Regions from separate parts of the Homo sapiens genome. Here all the other regions are linked to region 2. Evidence: promoter capture Hi-C in 16 types of primary human blood cells and fetal thymus (Javierre and others, 2016). All regions are on one chromosome and are shown on one strand. The core of a region is centred on a gene start or on the middle of the fragment in contact, and the rest is flanking DNA. Distances in the headings are between cores, read along the strand shown.

Evidence for each region. The method cuts DNA at HindIII sites, captures the fragments that hold promoters and counts their contacts. A CHiCAGO score of 5 or more calls a contact.
Region 1: a fragment that was not itself captured here is called in contact with the fragment with the promoter of KATNAL1 in region 2 in 3 of 17 cell types (naive CD4 T cells, naive B cells and non-activated CD4 T cells); the score reaches 6.8 in naive CD4 T cells.
Region 3: a contact is called between a fragment that was not itself captured here and the fragment with the promoter of KATNAL1 in region 2, in 4 of 17 cell types (naive CD4 T cells, fetal thymus, naive CD8 T cells and 1 more). The highest score is 6.8, in naive CD4 T cells.
Region 4: a contact is called between a fragment that was not itself captured here and the fragment with the promoter of KATNAL1 in region 2, in 7 of 17 cell types (naive CD4 T cells, non-activated CD4 T cells, total CD4 T cells and 4 more). The highest score is 9.0, in naive CD4 T cells.
Region 5: a fragment that was not itself captured here is called in contact with the fragment with the promoter of KATNAL1 in region 2 in 3 of 17 cell types (naive CD4 T cells, fetal thymus and naive CD8 T cells); the score reaches 7.5 in naive CD4 T cells.
Region 6: a contact is called between a fragment that was not itself captured here and the fragment with the promoter of KATNAL1 in region 2, in 1 of 17 cell types (naive B cells). The highest score is 5.4, in naive B cells.
Region 7: a contact is called between a fragment that was not itself captured here and the fragment with the promoter of KATNAL1 in region 2, in 8 of 17 cell types (naive CD4 T cells, fetal thymus, total CD4 T cells and 5 more). The highest score is 9.6, in naive CD4 T cells.

The regions. Positions count from the first base shown.
Region 1 is chr13:30,524,213-30,526,912 of GRCh38, reverse strand. It overlaps a transcript of HMGB1 not described here. Among named protein-coding and RNA genes, the nearest start is that of HMGB1, 60 kb to the right of the region's middle. The HindIII fragment of the contact is 4,367 bases long and covers 1-2,700 here.
Region 2 is chr13:30,306,258-30,308,957 of GRCh38, reverse strand. It overlaps KATNAL1 (katanin catalytic subunit A1 like 1), which reads left to right and starts at 1,407. Exons shown (of 11, transcript NM_032116.5): 1 at 1,407-1,627. RefSeq lists silencers at 1,403-1,632, 1,663-1,772. The HindIII fragment of the contact is 2,852 bases long and covers 717-2,700 here.
Region 3 is chr13:30,152,089-30,154,788 of GRCh38, reverse strand. It overlaps LINC00384 (long intergenic non-protein coding RNA 384), which reads left to right and starts at 1,715. Exons shown (of 2, transcript NR_138041.1): 1 at 1,715-1,755; 2 at 2,640-2,700. LINC00385 (long intergenic non-protein coding RNA 385) reads right to left here and starts at 1,027. Exons shown (of 2, transcript NR_187533.1): 1 at 1-1,027. RefSeq lists an enhancer at 331-1,530. The HindIII fragment of the contact is 1,198 bases long and covers 714-1,911 here.
Region 4 is chr13:30,557,908-30,560,607 of GRCh38, reverse strand. It overlaps a transcript of HMGB1 not described here. Among named protein-coding and RNA genes, the nearest start is that of USPL1, 59 kb to the left of the region's middle. The HindIII fragment of the contact is 2,172 bases long and covers 253-2,424 here.
Region 5 is chr13:30,115,195-30,117,894 of GRCh38, reverse strand. No RefSeq gene overlaps it. Among named protein-coding and RNA genes, the nearest start is that of LINC00365, 7.7 kb to the right of the region's middle. The HindIII fragment of the contact is 1,707 bases long and covers 478-2,184 here.
Region 6 is chr13:30,483,385-30,486,084 of GRCh38, reverse strand. It overlaps a transcript of HMGB1 not described here. Among named protein-coding and RNA genes, the nearest start is that of HMGB1, 19 kb to the right of the region's middle. The HindIII fragment of the contact is 4,231 bases long and covers 1-2,700 here.
Region 7 is chr13:30,132,365-30,135,064 of GRCh38, reverse strand. No RefSeq gene overlaps it. Among named protein-coding and RNA genes, the nearest start is that of LINC00384, 19 kb to the left of the region's middle. The HindIII fragment of the contact is 7,366 bases long and covers 1-2,700 here.

The sequences.
Region 1 (2,700 bases), core at 73-2,572, 220 kb before region 2:
CAGGCTGATTGTGATCTGAGACAAAACAGTGCCAAGTGCTGCTAAATCATTAGAACACTTGTGGATAACAGCAAGAGAAATAAAGACACACAGACTCTCTCACAGGAAGGCTCTGTGGTATGGAGAGGAGCTTTGGCGACAGAGGGCAGAGGCCCCTTTCTGGTTGTCTTGGGACAAGTCATTTAGTGATGGTGGAGCTAGGGCTCGTGGTGGCAGGCTTGCTGTCTCCCCATATCAAGGTCTTGCTGTGTGCCAAGCACTGTCAGGTTCCTCGTAGACGTCATGTCCCAATAGCCCTATGAGGCAGGCACTGTGATTATAGCAATTTGATTTTAATTTTTTTTAGGTTATCTGGTGAGGTTGCAGATCTCTCTGGATGAAGAATCTCAGACTCAGAGGTGAAATGATATGCAGGCAGAACCAGTCTCACTGTTCTCTGTCTTAATGTCTCTCAGCCTTCATTTATCATCTGCAAAATGGGAATAAAAAATACAATCTCATAGAGTTAGAGAAATAATGAATAATTCACAAGTCTGTGGTATATAATATGTGTTTGGGCCAGGCGTAGTGGCTTGCGCCTATAAACCCAGCACTTTGGGAGGCCGAGGCAGGCGCATCACTTGAGGTCAGGAGTTTGAGACCAGCCTGGCCAACATGGTGAAACCCCATCTCTACTAAAAATAGAAAAATGAGCCAGACATGGTGGTGCATGCCTGTAATCCCAGCTACTCAGGAGACTGAGGCGTGAGAATCACTTGAACCTGGAAGGTGGTGGTTGCATTGAGCCAATATCATGCTACTGCCTTCCAGCCTGGGCATCAGAGCAAGACCCTGTCTCAAAAAAAAGAAATAAAAGTTGTTAGATGTGGGTTATTTAATGTTGCATATTGCCTTCCAATTTTAAAAAAAATTGCCAGGCTGAGCACAGTGGCTCATGCCTATAATCCCAACACTTTGGGAGGCCAAAGCGGACAGATCGCTTGAGCTCAGAAGCTCCAGACCAGCCTGGGCAACATGACGAAACCCCCATTATATGGTTAGGCTTTGTGTCCCCCCACAATCTCATCTTGAATTGTAATCCCCACCTGTCAAGGGAGAGACCAGATGGAGGTAATTGAATCACAGGGGCCATTTCCCCATGCTGTTCTTATGGTAGCGAGTGAGTTCCCGTGAGACCTGATGGTTTTTTTTTTTATGTTAATAATGGAGTTTAATATTTTGTTTCTGTGCAATCTTATGAAATACAACTTGTTTTATAAGAATTTTCAACAAAGTATTAGTTTCCTTTTGCAAAAAGTTATTAGTTTGCCATTTAGTAGCTTTTAAGTATGTTGAATTTTTTTACATAATTAAGAACCTCAATATTCTTGTTATCAAAAACATTTAGTGAGTACCTCCATGTGCAAAACAACTGGGCTAAAGAGTCATAGGACAGAGCCCTACTGTCAAGGATCTTTGAGTCTGTCTTGAGAGATACTTTATTCTTTCATCTCTTCCTTTGCTGTGGTTCACATCTGATGTCACAAAAACCAGTGGGGGTTGGGAGTACGCCAAAGAACAAGAATACTGAGACATTTTGCTGCAATATTTTGTGCATCCCTAAAGGCCATTTCTAAATAACAACAATGGTGATGACAACAAAATTACACCTGTCATTTATCAGGAACATACAATGTCAAAGCACTGTGCTGAATGATCATTTATCTTTAAATGATCAGATGCTTTCAATGATCATCCAGTTCTTCCACCTACTCTCTGAGGTTTCTATTCTTATTTTTGCCATTTTATACATGGAGTCTGAGCTTAGAGAGATTAAGAAACTTCTATTATTTTAATAGTTAGCAGAGTTCGGATTTAAACTCAATCCTGTTAGACTTCAAAGCCATATTTGTAACCATTTTACTATGCCGATTTGTTCTGTCTGGCCTACAAATAAGAATGTATTTGTTTGTTTAATACTTATTTGTTGGATATCTACTATGTGATAAAAAAACAACGCATATATAACCACAGGCAAGGTTCCAATTAAGAAATAAATCTTAGGAGGGGCCTGTGGTGAAATACAATGTGACCAAATCTTTATATATCTTTTCAAGTGTATAAACTGCAGATGGTTACAGACATAAATATTGGTAACTTCATATACCAGTTTCAGTTAGCCAAGTCTGTTGAAGAATTTCACCAAATTATTATTATTATTATTATTATTATTTATTTTATTTTATTTTTGAGACAGAGTCTTGCTCTTGTCACCCAGGCTGGAGTGCAATGGCACGATCTTGGTTCACTGCAACCTCTGCCTCCTGGGTTCAAATGATTCTCCTGCCTCAGCCTCCCAAGTAGCTGGGATTACAGGCACCTGATGGTGGTTTTATAAGTGTTTGGTAGTTCCTCCTGCATTCATTCCCTCTCCTGCCGCCTTGTAAAGAAGGTGCCTTGCTTCCCCTTCACCGTCCACCACGATTGTAAGTTTCCTGAAGTCTTCCTAGCCGTGCTCAACTGTGAGTCGATTAAACCTCTTTCCACCCAGTCTCAGGCAGTTCTTCTTTTTTTTCTTTTTTTTTTTTTTTTTTTTAATATACTTTAAGCTCTGGGATACATGTGCAGAACGTGCAGGTTTTATTAATAGGTATACATGTGCTATGGTGGTTTGCTGCACCCATCAACCCATCATCTACATTAGGTATTTGTCCTAATGCT
Region 2 (2,700 bases), core at 158-2,657:
TGCTCCAAACCTTCTAAAGAGTTGGCTATAGAAACAACCAAAGAAAAGGGGCTGATTTCGAAATTATGTGTCAGCAGGAGTAGAGAGAGGAGAGTTGTAAGAGGTGATATGTGGAGAGGTCTAAGTGTTCAGGAAAAGCAAGAACTGAGAGCCAGAAGTGACGGTGCAATCCTTGAGAGGACATTGGCCGTGGGGAACACCACAAGGTGGATAAGGGACTCAGTCAAGTTCAAGAAAATCTCTGTGGTAGGATGACTCAGCTGGATTACAGGAGCCATTTTTGTTATTTTCAACCATAATTTTTCAGGAGATATTCATTACTAGAAAATGACAAGGTCACGAATTCACTCCCCTTCCTCTTTTTTTCTATTAAATTTCTGGGCCTCAGTTTTCCCATCTATAAAATCTAGAGATTGGGCCTAGAATATCTCTGTAGTTTCCATTAGAGTCTATAGCTCTAATAATAATAACAACACATTTTTATGTTCTCTTTTGAGGTAAATTTACATGCAGTGAAATGTACAAATCTTAAATGTCCCATTCCAAGAGTTTTGACAAGTGCATATACTTCTGTAACCGAAACTCTTAGCTATAGAATTTTTTCATCACTACAAAAAATTCTCTCAAACTCCTCCCCGACAGCCAACCACTATTCTGACTTTTATCACTATTGATTAAATAATTAATATTTAATAGCTATTGTTAAATGCTAAGCTTTGTTTTATAGAGCTTCATCAGTATTAATGCGTGTATTTCTTACAAGAGTTGCAAGATGGATATCTCCATTTTTGCAGATCAAAACGTTAAGAGGTGAGAAAGGCGCCTCTGGTCATCAGCTACCAAGCACAGGGGCAGGACGTGAACTAAGAATTCGTTTTAGAAGCCCACGCTCTTAACCTGTTTATCCTAGAGTCCACAAACGATTGCCAAGAAACAGCATAAATCCAAATTCAGTCGAAAGCAATGCCATTTGCAAATTCTAAAACCTCCTGAATAATCCTAAAGGCCATATGCATTCCATCTTATCGAAGGATTCCCTTCTATCCCCCTCCCCAGAGAATGGAGAAAGGGGGTGCGAAAGACTTCAATTCGGTTTGACTGGAGAAAAACACAGAGGTGGCGTAGGATCCACACATCCCTTGGGGGCAGACCCAGCGGCGGACGCCTGGACAGGCGGCGGGAAAGGCGCTGCGACGCCCCGGGTGCCCCCTCCTTCGACGCCACTGGCATCACCTCCGAAAGCAGCAGGCACGAAGGTGCCCTGCCACGGGGGCTGGACGCAGTGGAGGCAGGCTCATCAAGCACGACCAGAGCTCAGTCGGCCACACGTCCTCCTCAATGTCACTGTCTCCCTGCTCTCCCACCCCGCGCCGCTGCACCTCCCTCCCCCCGGCAACCTGGGCGGGAGTCCCAAGCTCCGCCCCAGAGCGGACTCACAGCCCCCGCGCTCCCTCCCGCGCTGCGCCCACCGCGCGGCCGCGGCTGCCATGGCAACACTACGCCGCCGCCGCCTTTTCACGCACGTCGCGAGCTAACGGACTCGGCGGCGGCGGCGGCGGCGGCCTGCGCCCCACCCGCACCCCATCTGGACCGCATCGCTGAATGTGCCCGGACCTGCGCCTTCTGGGTAATGAATCCGAGAGAAAGGGGCGAGGGCGAGACAGCAGGTGGTGGAGGGCTCTAGCCAACAGCCCCTCTCGGCCTCCCACTGCCGGAGACGCCAGGGCAGTGGGCTGCGGGGTTCCTCGGGCGCTGGCTCCCGTGCGGGGACGGGGAGGGGCGCGGGAGCGCCAGGCTCGCGGTGCATCATGGGAATTGTAGTTCAGCGACTCCTCGGGCTCGCGGTCTTGGTGGGGTAGCTCGGACTGGCGAACTACAAAGCCCGGCGGCCCCGACCGCCGGGAAAGACCGATAAACTTTGAGCGGACCGGGACAGAAAAAAAAATCTCTCTTTGTCTTGAGGGGGCTGTTGAGTGGTCGCGGACCTGGGCTCTGTGCGTTGGGAAAGGGAAGTGGAGGTGAGCCTCGGGCTTCCCGCCCTGTAGCTGGGCCCGCCCCAGTTGCAGCGCTCAGCCCCACCCCGGCTGGGCCACCGCCCTGCACAGTCTCAGGGATGAGCAGCCGCCCAAGCTGCAGGGCCTCGGGTCTTCGGCGCCTCTGACCCTCGCAGGTTGCTGCCTTTCGGTGCAGAACCGTATGTATGTCACACATTGGATGTGAGACCTGAGAAACCGTGTTTTAACAGGTTTTTCTCCTTTCCTGGATACGTTTATTTCTGGGTTAGTCATGTTTGTTTTAAAGTAGCTCAGAGGTGTTTGCATATTAAACCCATCAATTGGTAATTACTCAAAGGGCAGTAATGTTTAAAGGTTAAGTGTGGAAATAGATAAAAAGATGTCATTGCGATTATATGGTGGTATCTGGCATTTTTAACTTTTTGCATTTTTGAATTTTATTTCTTGAGGTTCAAGGTTGTGAAATGAGTGCTCCACCCCACCCCCCCCTTGCCAGCCTGAACACTGCCTACACATATTTTGATTAGTTCAGCTTTAAATTACTAGTAACTTTTAAAAACAGACTTTTTTAGCAGTAGGCAGCAATAATTCTTTGATTATTCCAGTGTTATTCAGAATTTCTCAGCATGTTTTCGGAAGGAAAAATACCATGTTTTAATTATTTAGTTAATTCTTTATATATTTT
Region 3 (2,700 bases), core at 63-2,562, 150 kb after region 2:
GCCTCGCTGCGCTCTCAAGGCCGCTCGTGGTTGTGTGGAGATCACAGCAATGGGGGCGAGAGTGGACGCCGGAGTGCAGGTGGGGCTGGTGCAGACCTCCAGGTGCGGGTAACGGGGACTGGCCCGGGGTGGTGACGGGGGAGATGCAGGGAATGGGCAGACAGGAGAGATACTTGGGGCAAGAACAAACAGGACTTGCTGATGGAGTCGGTATGGGGTGGGGGTGCAATAAGGGACATTGACCCTCAGGTGTGTGGGCTTGGAAACTAGGAGCGTGACGAGATTGTGCATCTGAGAAGTTTCTCTGACTTGCCCAAGGTCACACAAGGTGTAGGTGGCAGAGCTGGGGTTGTTCTGACAACGAGGTGCGGTTCTTTCCTCTGCACAAGCCGGCTTCCTGGGATCGTGGCTCTTCTGGGGAGAGGGACCTTGGAGAGCGCCTGCCTTCGGGCAGGAGAATCTCCACTGGACGAGAGAGAATCTGGAGGTCAGGTGGTTTTCTGGAACGCACATAGCCAGGGAGGGGGAAGCAGGCAGGGGCTGCATCTGGCTGCCTGGGGTGGGCAGGCACTCTCTGTTCCATGCCACACAGAGAGTCCCCAAGGCCTTTCTGAAAAGCTCTTCCCAGCCCTTCCGTGATAAACAACCTGCTGTCCCCGGCTCCGGGCGGGAAGAATCTAAGGGGAGACGCTCCTCCGTTAGTCACGCAAGCTTGCCTGGGTGGTTAGCACAATGAAGCCGTCAAGCCACTAGGCAGGAAGGGCGGGAGCTGGCGTTTCAAGCACCGCTGCCCACCCGAGGGATGTGCAGGGTAGCAACAGCCCACGCCGGCGGTGGGGAGCAGCCTGGTCACCCACAGGAGCTTGTGAGGCCCGAGGAGTGTCCGTGTGGCAAGGCCCCTGCCCCAGCTTTTCATTTATGAAACAGAGCGTGACCTCCAGAACTCACTGGGGTTCTGTATGACGGAGCTCCCCGCGTTGGGCAAGCAGGGTGACCCCGTCCTCCATCATGGCTCTCTCACTGTGACGCCGACCCTCGGTCCCCACGCTCGGCTTGCAGTAGAACGTTTCCTCTCTCCAGGTTGTCATGACAATTTTCACTGAGAAGCTGTTTCTGTAGAGGGAGCAAAAAAAGAAACAGGGGGAAATGCTTATTAAAGCCAGGCCTAGTGAGTCTGAGGATTTCAGTGGTGTCTTTACATTCTCAGTGGCTTCTGAAGAAAAAGTGGAATTTCTGTCCTCTACACCAGCTGGCTGCTAGGAACTTTGCTGTTATATAGAGGCAATGCATGAAGTCCAGAATCCATTACATTATACTAATTATAGTAATAATGATAATAACAATTAAATGTGAGCCTTCAAAGGCAGGTCCCCTCCGGCAGAATCCATTAAGGAGAATGGGTGTAATTATTCGGGCAGTGGAGGCACAGTGCAATTTTAGGGGTGGTCAGTGTTATCCTGATAACAATCCCATTCTCTCCTCCTTCGTCACTGGCCATCTGGCCTTCCAGTGTCTTCTCCCCAGATCTCAACCATCTGTCCATCAATGTCTCACTAATTATTGCAAACAATTCTGTGTAAAATGAGAAGAAAGTAAAGGTTAACTTTCCCATTTTACAGATTAGTCATTGTCTTCCTGAACAAACAGTGAGGAAACCCAGGGGAGGTGACCCCTCAGTGAATGTATCCTACAGAAGAGCCGGATCTGGAACTCTGCTTGAGCAAGCCAGTGTAAAAATTACAACAGCTTACTGAGGTTTCTATTTTTCCTTATTTTTCTCTCTGCACTAAACAAACACACATTCATTGTGGTAAATCTGAAATACATAGAAAAGCCTAAAAGAAAAATCACCCCAAATCTTAATGTCTGGGATTAAACCTAATACCGAGGAATACCTTGTCCACCCAAGCTTGGTGGCTGATGTGAGTCAGGTCAGGAGGGATTGGGAGGTACAGTTCTGTCTTCACGCCCCCCTCCTGGAAGGCTGCAGACTTCTGGAGCTGCATCCATACCCATACAGCTCTAGAACCTCCGCCTGTGTGGGGTTGCGTGTCAAACACTGGAGCTTCTGGAGCTGCCTGGGCTTTGGCTCATTAGAACTCAGGGATGAAGTAGAAACTGTAGGTCCCTGCTGAAGAGCATCCAGTCTTTCCATTCATCCGTTGAGCATGCACCAAGGCATTGAGAGGATAGAGATGATGTTGTGAGGATACAGATAGAGATATAAAGAAGCTGTAGTCCTTATCTTTAAGCAGCTTGCAGACTAACTTGGGAAACAGATGCTTGAATGAACTAGTAAAACTGTGCTCAGCAATGCGCTTCATTTTACGGATGAGCAGAGGGAGGCAGAAATGCAACGTGGTTGTTAGGGTCTGAGTGCAGCAAGTCCCCATTTCAAGATCAAATTTCAGGTGATAGACAACCTCCAAGGTACCCCCCAATGACCCTTGATTTTTGCACCTCATATGGTCTCTTCCCACGCTGCATCAGGGTTGGTCTGTGAGGCCAGCTGATGTGGCAGAGCTGATGATATGTGACTTCCAAGGCTGGGCAGGAAAGGCATTGAGGCTTCCACCTTGTTTTGTGGATCACTTGTTCAGAGGGAAGTCAGCCAAAATATTCTGTGAATTCTCAAATAGCCCTGTGCAGAAGCTGATATTGAGAGCATGGAGGCTTCCTGCTAAAGGCCAGCATCAGCTT
Region 4 (2,700 bases), core at 89-2,588, 250 kb before region 2:
TATCGGCCTTTGTCTGAAGTGGTTTCATGCAACGTTACACCTTTATACTCCTTGGGAGGAAAAACAGCCCCTCGACTCCACATTTCCTTCTAGCTACTGACCTAATTCTCCTAACCTTCAGATTTGAGCTTCTTGAAAGAGTAGCTTATAATGGGGTATCCCTACTTCCTTATGCCTGCTTGATGACTCAACCCACTGCAGTTAGCTTCTGCTCCCTGATGGAATTGTTCTCGCTAAGGCTACCGATAAGCTTCATATTTGCCAAAACCAAAGGCTGATTTTTAACCTTTATCCTACTTTGTGCCTTCGTGGCATTAGACACTGCTGACCACCCCACCATGGAACTTTTTTCCTGCTTTGACTTACATGACCCTACTTTTTCCTGGTGCTTCTGTCTTTGTAGCTTTTTCCCTTGCAGCCTCTTTGGGGGTGTCCTCTTTTCTTATTCATTCATTCAACAAATGTTTGTGAAGCTGGATCCTGGAGCTGCAGTGGTAGGTGGGATATAATCTCTACCCTCATTGCTACAGGATACAAGAGAAACAATCAAATAATTACACAAATCACTGTAAATAGTTACACACACATTCTGGTAAATGCTGGGAGGGGGTGCCTTGGGGGTCTCAATGGTGAGAAACACGTGACATCTGAGTCATGTGAAGGCATCATCCATCTCACTGTACTACCTTTCCTGCTTTTTGGGAATATGAGATTTTGGTGAATGAATGCATATTCATCTTAGTCATACTCTTAATTGTTTAATAATTGTCAGTCACATACCCTTTCACAATCTGCTGTTTCCAAGTGTAGATATTTTTATCCTTTTAATATAAATTCTTCTCCTCAGTCCCTTGTTAGTAGTTATGGAGAGACTTGGGCTGAAATACATTTTTGTAAATCTTGAGTTCAGTTATGCCTTAGTTGAGCAGCAGCAGCTAGAACTTCCCAGAATTCCAGGTGTCCATCTATTTGCAGCTGAATTCCATCCGCTTTCTTAAAAACTGATTTCCCTATGTGGCTATCTAAATTTAATCTCATGTGTTAGAGCAGGCAGCCTACTACACGCACATCTCTGAACACTACTTTGCAATATGCCATATTGCTGAAGAGGTGTGGACAGAGTACACAGTTGGTTTGAGTCTGGCTTCCATCACTTCATTCTTTTGACAGGTTATTTAAATTCACTGCCCAAGGAAGCAAAACTAGTAAACCAGCAATGAAACTCGGGCCATCTTACCGGGATTGGGAGTTCACCCTGTAAAATAAGCCATGGTCTTGTAAATGACCATTGTCAATGGTGAGGAAAGGTTGTCCCATAGTGTGCTTCCCTAGCCACTCTAGAAGCACAGGAAGCACTGGCCTTGGAGTGAGGCCAGTGCCTAACGTACCTTGGTAAGGAATGATCTAAGGCAGTGCTTCTCAACAGGGGCAATTTTTCCTCCACCCGCACCCCCCACCCCAGGTACATTTGGCAATGTAAGAAACAGACTCACCTATTTCTAGAGAAGTCCTCAAAAGATATTTTTAAAAATTAAAAGTAACTATAGATTCAGAGCTTTCTGGAAAAGTGTACAGATCATTTATTCATTCAACACATTCTGAACACCTACTGTGAGTCACGAGCCAGGGTTAACCTTCAACAAGTTTGGTCCTTGCCCTCAAGAAGATTATAATCCATCTGCATTGGTGGTCCTCAAATTTTACCGTGCATCAGAATCCCTTGGAGGCTTGTGAAAAACTCATTTCTCGGCCCTACTCCCAGAGTTTCTGATTCAGTGGGTCTGGGGTGGGGCCCAAGAATTTGCATTTCTAACAAGTTCAGGATCACACTTGAAAACTATTGCTCTAGGGGAATAAGGAAAGAAAGCTCCTGGGGTTTTGAGGATCAACATTTGCAGTATCTGGGGGACACTTGAATGGCTTGATTCTATCTGTCAGAATGTCTTTTTGGAAAAAGGAAGGTTTCATAGCCCATGGCTGTTAGAGACAGACTTGGTGTTTCACTAACAACTAGGATTATTGCTAAAAGCCCGGACATTTTAATGCCTATTTCTCTAAAGCCAGCAAGGTTGAACATTTTTTCATCTTAAAAAAAAAATCTTTTTTTACATGACTTATGTTTTCATTTCAGTTATTTTTTTAAAAAATTTTCTGCTGAGGTCTTGGTGAGCAAATGGTTTTAAACTCCACACTTTTGGCTAAGAATGAGATGTAAGATATAGACACTAGTTCTTAAAATTCAGCACTGTTCACTTTTGCCAAGTGAATATAAACTGAATTGCATCAAATTACAGAGAACAGTGTATCTAGAATATTGTTTTATTTTATCATTTTTACCTTTCCATTGAAAGATGAAATCAGGCGATCAAAGTAGCAAGGGTTAAGTTTCTAGACTACCACAAATTAGAATTGACAAGAAAAGCTTTCTGATCCATATTTGCCTGGGAAGGCTCCAAGGGAAACACAAGAAGCAGCAACTCAAATCCTGTTCTCTTCATTATCCTTTTTTTTTTAATAGCTCTTGCATAGGCTCGGTTTTTGGAAGTTGTATGCTGCTAATTTAGGTATATATGTCATTACAATTTTAGCATGGATCCTTCTCAGGCATACACAAGAGATGCCAGACATGTGAAAAAAGGAGGGAGCCAAGCACAGGAACCTCAGGGACACTGGCATAACTGTTCTAGAGTCAGAAACCAC
Region 5 (2,700 bases), core at 82-2,581, 190 kb after region 2:
TGTGCTATCTCTCTCGCCTGCCACCATGTAAGAAGTGCCCTGCTTCCCCTTCACCTTCCACCATGATTGTAAGTTTCCTGAGGCCTCTCCAGCCTTGTAGAACCGTGTGTCAATTAAACCTCTTCTGTTTACAAATTACCCAGTCTCAGGTATTCTTTATAGCAGTGTGAAAATGGACTAATACATTTTCTCAGACCTATCAAACAGGTGGGATTGCTGTCAACTTAATTAAATTCATAGTTTTAAAATTTGGTGAGTATTTGTTTAGTCTTATCAGTGATCATGGAGATGTTTAGTGGGCCTGACAGTGCAGAACCCTGTGGCACATCACCGGAAGCCTCTCTCTGGGTTCCATTGAACCTAGTCCCTTCCCCTTTTGTCCTATCTGACTCTTTTCATAGTCTCCATTGCTGATTTATGCAGGGCGTCTTGCACTGGATAGAAGTTGGGAGTTACGATTTTGTATTTTTTCAAGCTTTATTTCTTATATTCCAAGCCCTATTTTAAATTCATTCTTTTAGATCTACTCTGACTCTTTTAAACCTAGTTAAATCTGACACCGCAGCGAAGATAAGATTAGCGTCGTGGTTCTCAAACTTCAGAGTGCATTGGAATCACCTGAGGGTTTGCTAAAACACGGGTGCCAGGCCCCATCTTCAGAGTTTCAGATTCAGTAGTTCTGGGGCAAAACCTGAGAATTTGTATTCCTAAGTCCCCAGGTGCTGCTGCTGCTGTTGGTCTGAGAACCACACTTTGAGAACCACTACTATAAAATATCCTTCCATATGTCTTTATATAAACAAAGACGCTAGGACTTTTACCCCTTCCACTAAGAATGTTTGGCCACAAGAGCTCTTTAATATTTGCTAAATAATAATGCAAATACTGCTTGCTGTCTTTGGTGTTAGGTGTTTAGTTTGGTTTGGCCCAATTAGATCAGAAAAGTTATTCTTTCACCAACATATGGGTAGCAAACTATCTTCTTTACGTAATTCTTTGTCTTCAAATTATTCCATGTCGTCTCTAATTAGAAAGCACTTGTAAACACTTGATGACTTGAATTAAAAGGCTTAACACAAAGCCTAAAGTGTTGCCTATGCTGTCTCTCATCCATATTTTGTAGATTTAAGATCACTCCCTATCTGCACTTGTGAGCCATCTCTGCTCCCTGGATCCATGTCAACCTGTTTCTGTTCCTCCTAACTGCCCCCTATCCCCCAGCTGCCACTGGGAAGCATAATGGCAGGGCCGTGGGCTGGCTCCCTCCAGAAGCTGTTGCTCTGACAACTGAGTGATGGGAAGAAAGCCTGGGCCATCCAAGCTGGTGGCTTCAGGAAGGGTGGAGGACAGTCTCCACGCTGCTGCTGCCGAGTGCTGATGAAGAGACTTCCTCTGAGGCCGGCTCGGCCCTGAGCCTCCCAGGAGACCCACCATCTGTCTTAGCTTCTCTGCCTCTCCCGGTTTTACAAGAGGTGGGAAACCCAGGCCCAGAGGGACACAACCCAACCTTGCTGATTTGGTCTACAAAGGATCTGTCAATTTACTTTGCAAAGTAAGTCATTGGTATTTACTTTCTCCTCCTCCTCCTTCTTTTGCCGTCCATTCAGAAATGTCTGAATGATCACTGCTGCGTCAGCCTCTGTGAAATTCAACTCTGTACACAATCAACAGAACAGATGTCCACACAGAGTAAGTTACAAGAGGGAGTCCATATCACAAAGCTAACTGCCTGACTTAGATGGCTGAAATTCCCAGGCATTTCCACATTTATACATTGTATTCGGGGAATAAAACAAAAGGCTGCTGCTAAGGTCTGAATGTTTGTGTCCTCTCAAAATTCACGTTAAAACTGAACTCCCAAGGTGATGGCATTAGCAGGCAGGGCCTTTGGGAAGTGATTAGGTCACCCTGATGAACGGGATTAGTGCCCTTATAGAAGAGATCCCAGGGAACGCTCTTCCTCCTTCTCCCAGGTAAGGACACAGCTAGGAGGCACCATCTATGAACCGGAGAGCAGGCTTTCCCCAGACACTGAATCAGCTGGCACCTTGATCTGGGACTTCCCAGCCCCAAGAACTGTGAGAAATCAGTTTCTATTGTTTATAAGCTACCAGTCTAGGGTATTTTGCTATAGCAGCCTGACTATAGCAGCTGGATTAGGATTGCCATTTAGAGTTATAAGCTTTTTCAGATGTTCATATAAAGACATTTTACTTATCATTTGTTTTCATTAAATTAAGTAAATAAAAATTTTTAAAGTTACTCAAACTGTGTTCTATGGTGCTTTAATTTAACTTTCTTATTCATTACCCTACTTATTCATTCCTTATTCCAGATAAAAGCCTTTGTGAAGGTCAGTGTTATGTATTTAATATATTTAAGAAAACGTTGCATTTATAACTCATTCATTCCTTGCCAAAGTATCCGTGGTTCCAGGAGAAAGAGCCAACGCGGCTATATTTGCCCCGCAGACAAGTAAGTGTTTCGTTGCCATTGGGTTCACGACATGCAGGTGCATAACATTCTCTGCCTGCACTTTCCGGGCCTTACTTACCATTCTTCCTTTCTATCGCATCTCCTTTCTTTCATTCCTTAAGCCTGTGGGAATCCTGCCACCAAGCCCTCTGATGGGAAAATGCGTCCACTGTTTTCTTTAGCTGAAAACTACCCCTAAACTACTGAAGGGGAAAGCCCAGCGCT
Region 6 (2,700 bases), core at 159-2,658, 180 kb before region 2:
GCCTTGTCTCCAACATCCCTATCTTGGGCCTCTATCATCAGTCATAGTGTTTTCATATTAAATAATCTAATAGAAAAAGCATGAATAGAAATCAAGGGTTCGAGCTTCAGCTCTGCTGTAAGGTGGTGTATGGCCCCGGGCAAGGCACTGACTTTCTCTAGATCCAATTTCTTTCATCTAAGACATAGGGATGCTGGATTTGATTATAACTGTGTTCTAAAATTCCATAAATCTTCCTTAAACTACTACTTACTAGTCTAATGAACAGCAAAGAGTATTTAAAATACTATTGTAAGATACTGTAATATTTTCCCCATAAGCGTCCCTAAGTTACTTTGGTCAAACTTTAAGGAATTCCACTATTTCTAGTCTTGTAGGTTCACCCTACCTGTGCTTTTCATGACTTATCTTCCTCATGCTCCCGCTTTTCCTTTGATGTTAGTGATTGCAGATCTGCTGTCTTTTCTTCTCTTTATCTACTTTTATTTATAAGTCTCAGCATGCACTTGATTATTTTTGTTGCCCATCTCTAGAGAGACCCTCGCTCTAAAAAAAGTCATAGGTACTCAAGGCAGGACACTGGTGTTTTCCGTGTTTTCCGGTGACACCACACAGTTTGGTGGCTTTGTGATGGCTGCGGCATGCTGAGCTGGTGCCCTTTGGGGGCTGCCCCCAGTGTCTCCCAAGTTGCCTTCCTATGTTATAAGTGGGAGTTAGGGTCTCTCATCTTAAAAGTACATTTGAAATGTTTTCCTGCTGGGCACAGTGGTTCACACCTGTAATCCCAGCACTTTGGGAGGCCAATATGGGTGGATTCCTTGAGGTCAGGAGTTTGAGACCAGCCTGACCAACATGGTGAAACCCTTCTCTACTAAAAATACAAAAATTAACTGGGCGTGGTGGCTCATACCTGTAGTCCCAGCTACTTGGGAGGCTGAGGCAGGAGAACCACTTGAACCCGGGAGGTGGGGATTGCAGTAAGCCGAGATTGCACTATGGCACTCCAGCCTGGGCAACAGAGTGAGACTCTGTCTCAAAAAAAAAAAAAAAGAAAAAGAAAAAAAGAAATGTTTTCCATGAAATGCTTCACTCTTTGCTATATTAATACTTATCTCCCATTTTTTGCACATTTACCCAGCTGTGAGAGGTCCTTTGGCTGTTTATCCCCTTGGCTCTTTGTCTCCTGGAAGAAGAGTAATCTATAGAATAAAAGATTGCACTGTGTATTTCCACTTCCATGTCATCTTCCCTTCTCTTCTCTTCTCTTCCCTTCTCTTTTCTTCCCTTCTCTTCTTCTCTCCTCTCCTCTCCTCTCCTCTTTCCTCTTCCTCCTACTCCTCCTCCTTCTTTTCTCTCTCTCTCTTTCTCTCTTTCTTTTTTTGAGACAGGGTCTCACAATGTTTCCTAGGCTAGTTTTGAACTCCTGGGCTCAAGCAGTCCTCCTGCCTTGGCCTCCCAAAGTGCTGGGATTACAGGCGTGAACCACTGCGCCTGGCCCATTTTTTCTTAATGGTGAAAACAAAAAACAAAACAATGTAATAAGCTCTTATACCCATCCCAGTCCCTGAGACAGAGTAGCGGTTGTTGGGGGATGGAGGGTGAGGAACGTGGTGAAGATCCTACTTCAGGAATGGCAAAATAGCATCCTGCTTCACTCAGTTTTAGTAGCAGGTATAGAGTAGTTGGTAGCAAAGCTGGTAATAGACTCTTATTCCTTCATTACTTTCCCCCACTTTATCATTTTAGACATTTAATTATGAATTGAGTGGCTCCTGGAGGTTAGATGCTGGGGAAAATGGGGAAGAAAGCACACCCTGCCCTGCAGGGGCTTACAGAGGTGAAGGTCACAGACGCCTGGGTAGTACAGACCCTGGCCCTGGAGACATTGCCAAGGAGGGGCAGCTCAGGCTGGGATGGGGGGTACCAAGGGACTGCTTCCCCCACAGCCAAGCTCTGAATGGGATGGTCAGGGGCAGCTTCTCAGAGCTGAAAGACAAGCATGAGTTGGACAGGTGTAAGGTTATCCTGCTGGAAAGACATCAAGGCCTGAGAGAGCATGACCATCCCAGGACCTCCCAGTGGCTCAGGATGGGAGCTTCAGCATGGGCAGGACAGAGAAGCAGGGCCTGACCATGAGTGGCCTAGGATGCTCTGCTAAGAGCTGAACATTCGGCTGGGTGCAGTAGCTCAAACCTATAATCCCAGCACTTTGAGAGGCTGAGGCAGGAGGATTGCTTCAGCCCAAGAGTTTGAGACCAGCCTGGGCAACATGGTGAGACACCATCTCTACAAAAAATTTAAAAATTAGTTGGGTGTGGTGGTGCGTGTCTGTGGCCCCAACTACTCAGGAGGCTGAGGAGGGAGGATCGCTTGAGTCCAGGAGGCAGAGGCTGCAGTGAGCCCAGATGATGTCACTGCACTCCAGCCTGGTGACAAAGGGAGACCCTGACTCAAAAAAAAAAAAAAAGAAATTTGCACGTTCTCTTGTGGGCAACAGGGAGTCATGCAGGAATTATTTAAGCAGAGGAACATCACGATCATAATGTCATAATTTACCTTAGAAACGTCACTCGGAGTTTCCTAACACTAAGGCCCAGGGTTGGAGTAGAGTGAGCAGGAGAAGGTGGCCTCGGAAATGAAGGGAAGTGACAGGGATCAGAGACACACATTAAAGAGGTAGGATCCCTAGGACTGGAGGGT
Region 7 (2,700 bases), core at 75-2,574, 170 kb after region 2:
TTGCGTGTAGTTGACTTGCTGCTTCTCTCCTCCTAGGGCTCAAATTCATTAGAGTGAGGGCTTGGTCTTATACCCCGCTGTTCCTGGCATATAGTAGGTGTTCAATTAAACATCTGTTAGGGGGTGGAGTTGCTGGCAGGGAACACGTTGTCCAGGACCTTTCTTTTTGCAGAGGACTGAATAAGCTCATAAGAGATGGCTTTGTGTCTTTCTCAGGAGCTGCCCTAAGGCTTTGTAACCCTCCACATTAGGACTTTCTTTCTGCTCTGTCAGGCTCATATTTGTTTTCACTGAATCATGGTTTTACAGCCAAACCAGCACAGCATAGCAGTTAAGGCTAGGGCAGGGGTTTGGCTAGAGCAGGGGTTTGGATGACAGTTAAATCTGGGTTTAGAGCCAGGTTCTGCAACTTGCTAGCTTTGCAAAGCTCCGAAAGTTACTTCACCTCTTAGAGCCTCTGTCTTCTTGGCTGTAAAGTGGGGTGTCTTACAGAGTTGTGACAATTCAATAAAGTGATAAAAACAAAGCCATTAGCACAGTGCATGGTAGCCAGAAGGGCCACAAAATATTTCTCCACTATTATGAGATCTGAAGATGGTGGCAGAGGGCGCAGTGCCTGGCTTTCTGGAGATCAGTGGATGTCTTTATGGCCACTGCTTTAAATCCTCTGTGGGTGACCTTTCCCCTGTTGTTCGTCTCTGCTCACATGGATGAAGCTGAGGCCCCCAGAGGAACCCTGGAAGCCACAGAGCTGGCAGGACCTAGGGCCCCTGCCCCTTGCCCCTGCTGACGGAAGGAGTCACTCACTGAACGAGCTGCCCCATCTGGCAGGAGTGTTGTCTGTCGGGAGGCCGTGTGTCCCTGGTTACAATGCAGTCACTGTCCAGTGGCCTGTCACCGGCCAGGACAAAGCTAGCCTGTTTTGGTCATTAGCTGTTGCTCTTTCAAAATAAAGAGAAGCCACAACTGAGTCTTTACCGAAGTTATTTTTAGATTTCTGGCTTCATAACAACCCTGGAATTTCTTATTTTCTCCTACTCTTCCTTTTATTTTGTTTTATTTTTTTTAAAAGCAGACAAGTCAACCTAGAACATTGAATAAATAACCCACCAGAGACAGCACGGAACGATCCGAGGCCACAAAACACATCACTTGTCCCTGGGTGATCTAAGGAGGTAAACGAACCTCTTTGGTTACAAGAACCTCAGCTGTCCAGAGACACCTGCCGGACACAGACTCCACTATGGGGCTCCCAGCTCTGGCCCGGTGGCTAGACGGGGCGTCAGGACAGGGCCACCACCTCCTGGGCTGGCACTGGAGGCGTGTTTCCAGCAGGTGTGTTTCCAGCGGTTGCTTGCTTTTTGTCCTGGGCCTTATCAACAGGGTGGAGTGAAAGGGAGCTTCCAGGGGAGGGCTCTCAAAGAAACACGCCTGCGCGGCCCTGCGGCTGGGGCGTCCCAGGCAGGCAGCACAGGCGGTCCTCACTGAGCTCTGTCTTCTGCTCCAGAAGGAGGATCAGCCCCAGAACCACAGGGAGATGCACTTTTACCAGGACCCATGGGCTCCCTCCCGGCAAGGACCAATAAAGTGATTAAATGAAAAGAAGTAAAACCCTCGGCTCAGGCAGCCAGCAGAGGCTGGGCCTTCAGGGTCACTAAGGATACGTGCAAAACCGCCTGCCCACAGCGCTGTGGCCTGCCTCGGTTGACAGTCACGCATAAGCCGGCCTGCCTTAGGTGGCCGAGGAAGGGAAGAAGTGGAATCATGGAAAACATCCTCCCAGTGGACAAGGGCGTCAAATGGCTGGTCCTCCAGGACAGGAGAGAAGAGAGTCTAAACCAAGAACCCCAGCCCGCTGGCTCTGGGGAAAGAGGGTGGCTGGAGAGACTGCCCCGGCGGCCTAGGAGGAGTGATCCCCGGGACCTTCTCCCAGCACGGCCCACCCAGTGCAGGGACGGCAGCGCCACCAACTCTCTGGGCTCTCGGTCCTGCCTCCGGGTCCCCGTCGCTATGGCCTGGACCTCTGCCCCCACCCAACATGGAGCCCCTTAAGAGCAGGGACGGGTCTCACTCCTCTCTGCCGTCCTCACCCCGGCTCTACGTCCAACCCTCAGTGAGTGCCCCCCCAAGTACTGAATAATGAATAAACGCATGTGCACCGAGGACGTGCGAGGCGTTCGTTTCTCCACCAGCCCTTCCTGGCCCTCTCTGCAGAGGCAAAGGCTGAGAGGAGCTTCCTTGCCAGTTCTGGGGGCGGGTCCCTGGTCAGGCGCGTTTCATCTCAGCACACAGCAGCCCAAGCGAGGCTCTCTCTCAAACAAGGAGAAGCCGCCCCCTGCTGGCCGCAGCCGATAGTGTCACACAAGGCAAGCAGGAGCCCTCTCAAAGGAGCCGGCTGCCAGCTTGGTGCTTACAATGGGCTGGCTGTGCAGGAAGAATGAGTTCAAGAGAGCTATTGTACAACGAGGTAACTAGAGTTAATAACAAGATATTATATCCTTAAAAGTTGCTAGGAGAGTAGATTTTAAGTCTTCTCATTGCAAAAATGGTGTGTGAGATAATGCATAATTAGCTCGATTTAGCCAGTCCACAAGGTACACATATTTCAAAACATTACATTGTACACGATAAATATAAACAATTTATATTTGTCGATTAAAAATAAATTTAAAAACACAGTTTTAAAAAGCTGAGATTTTC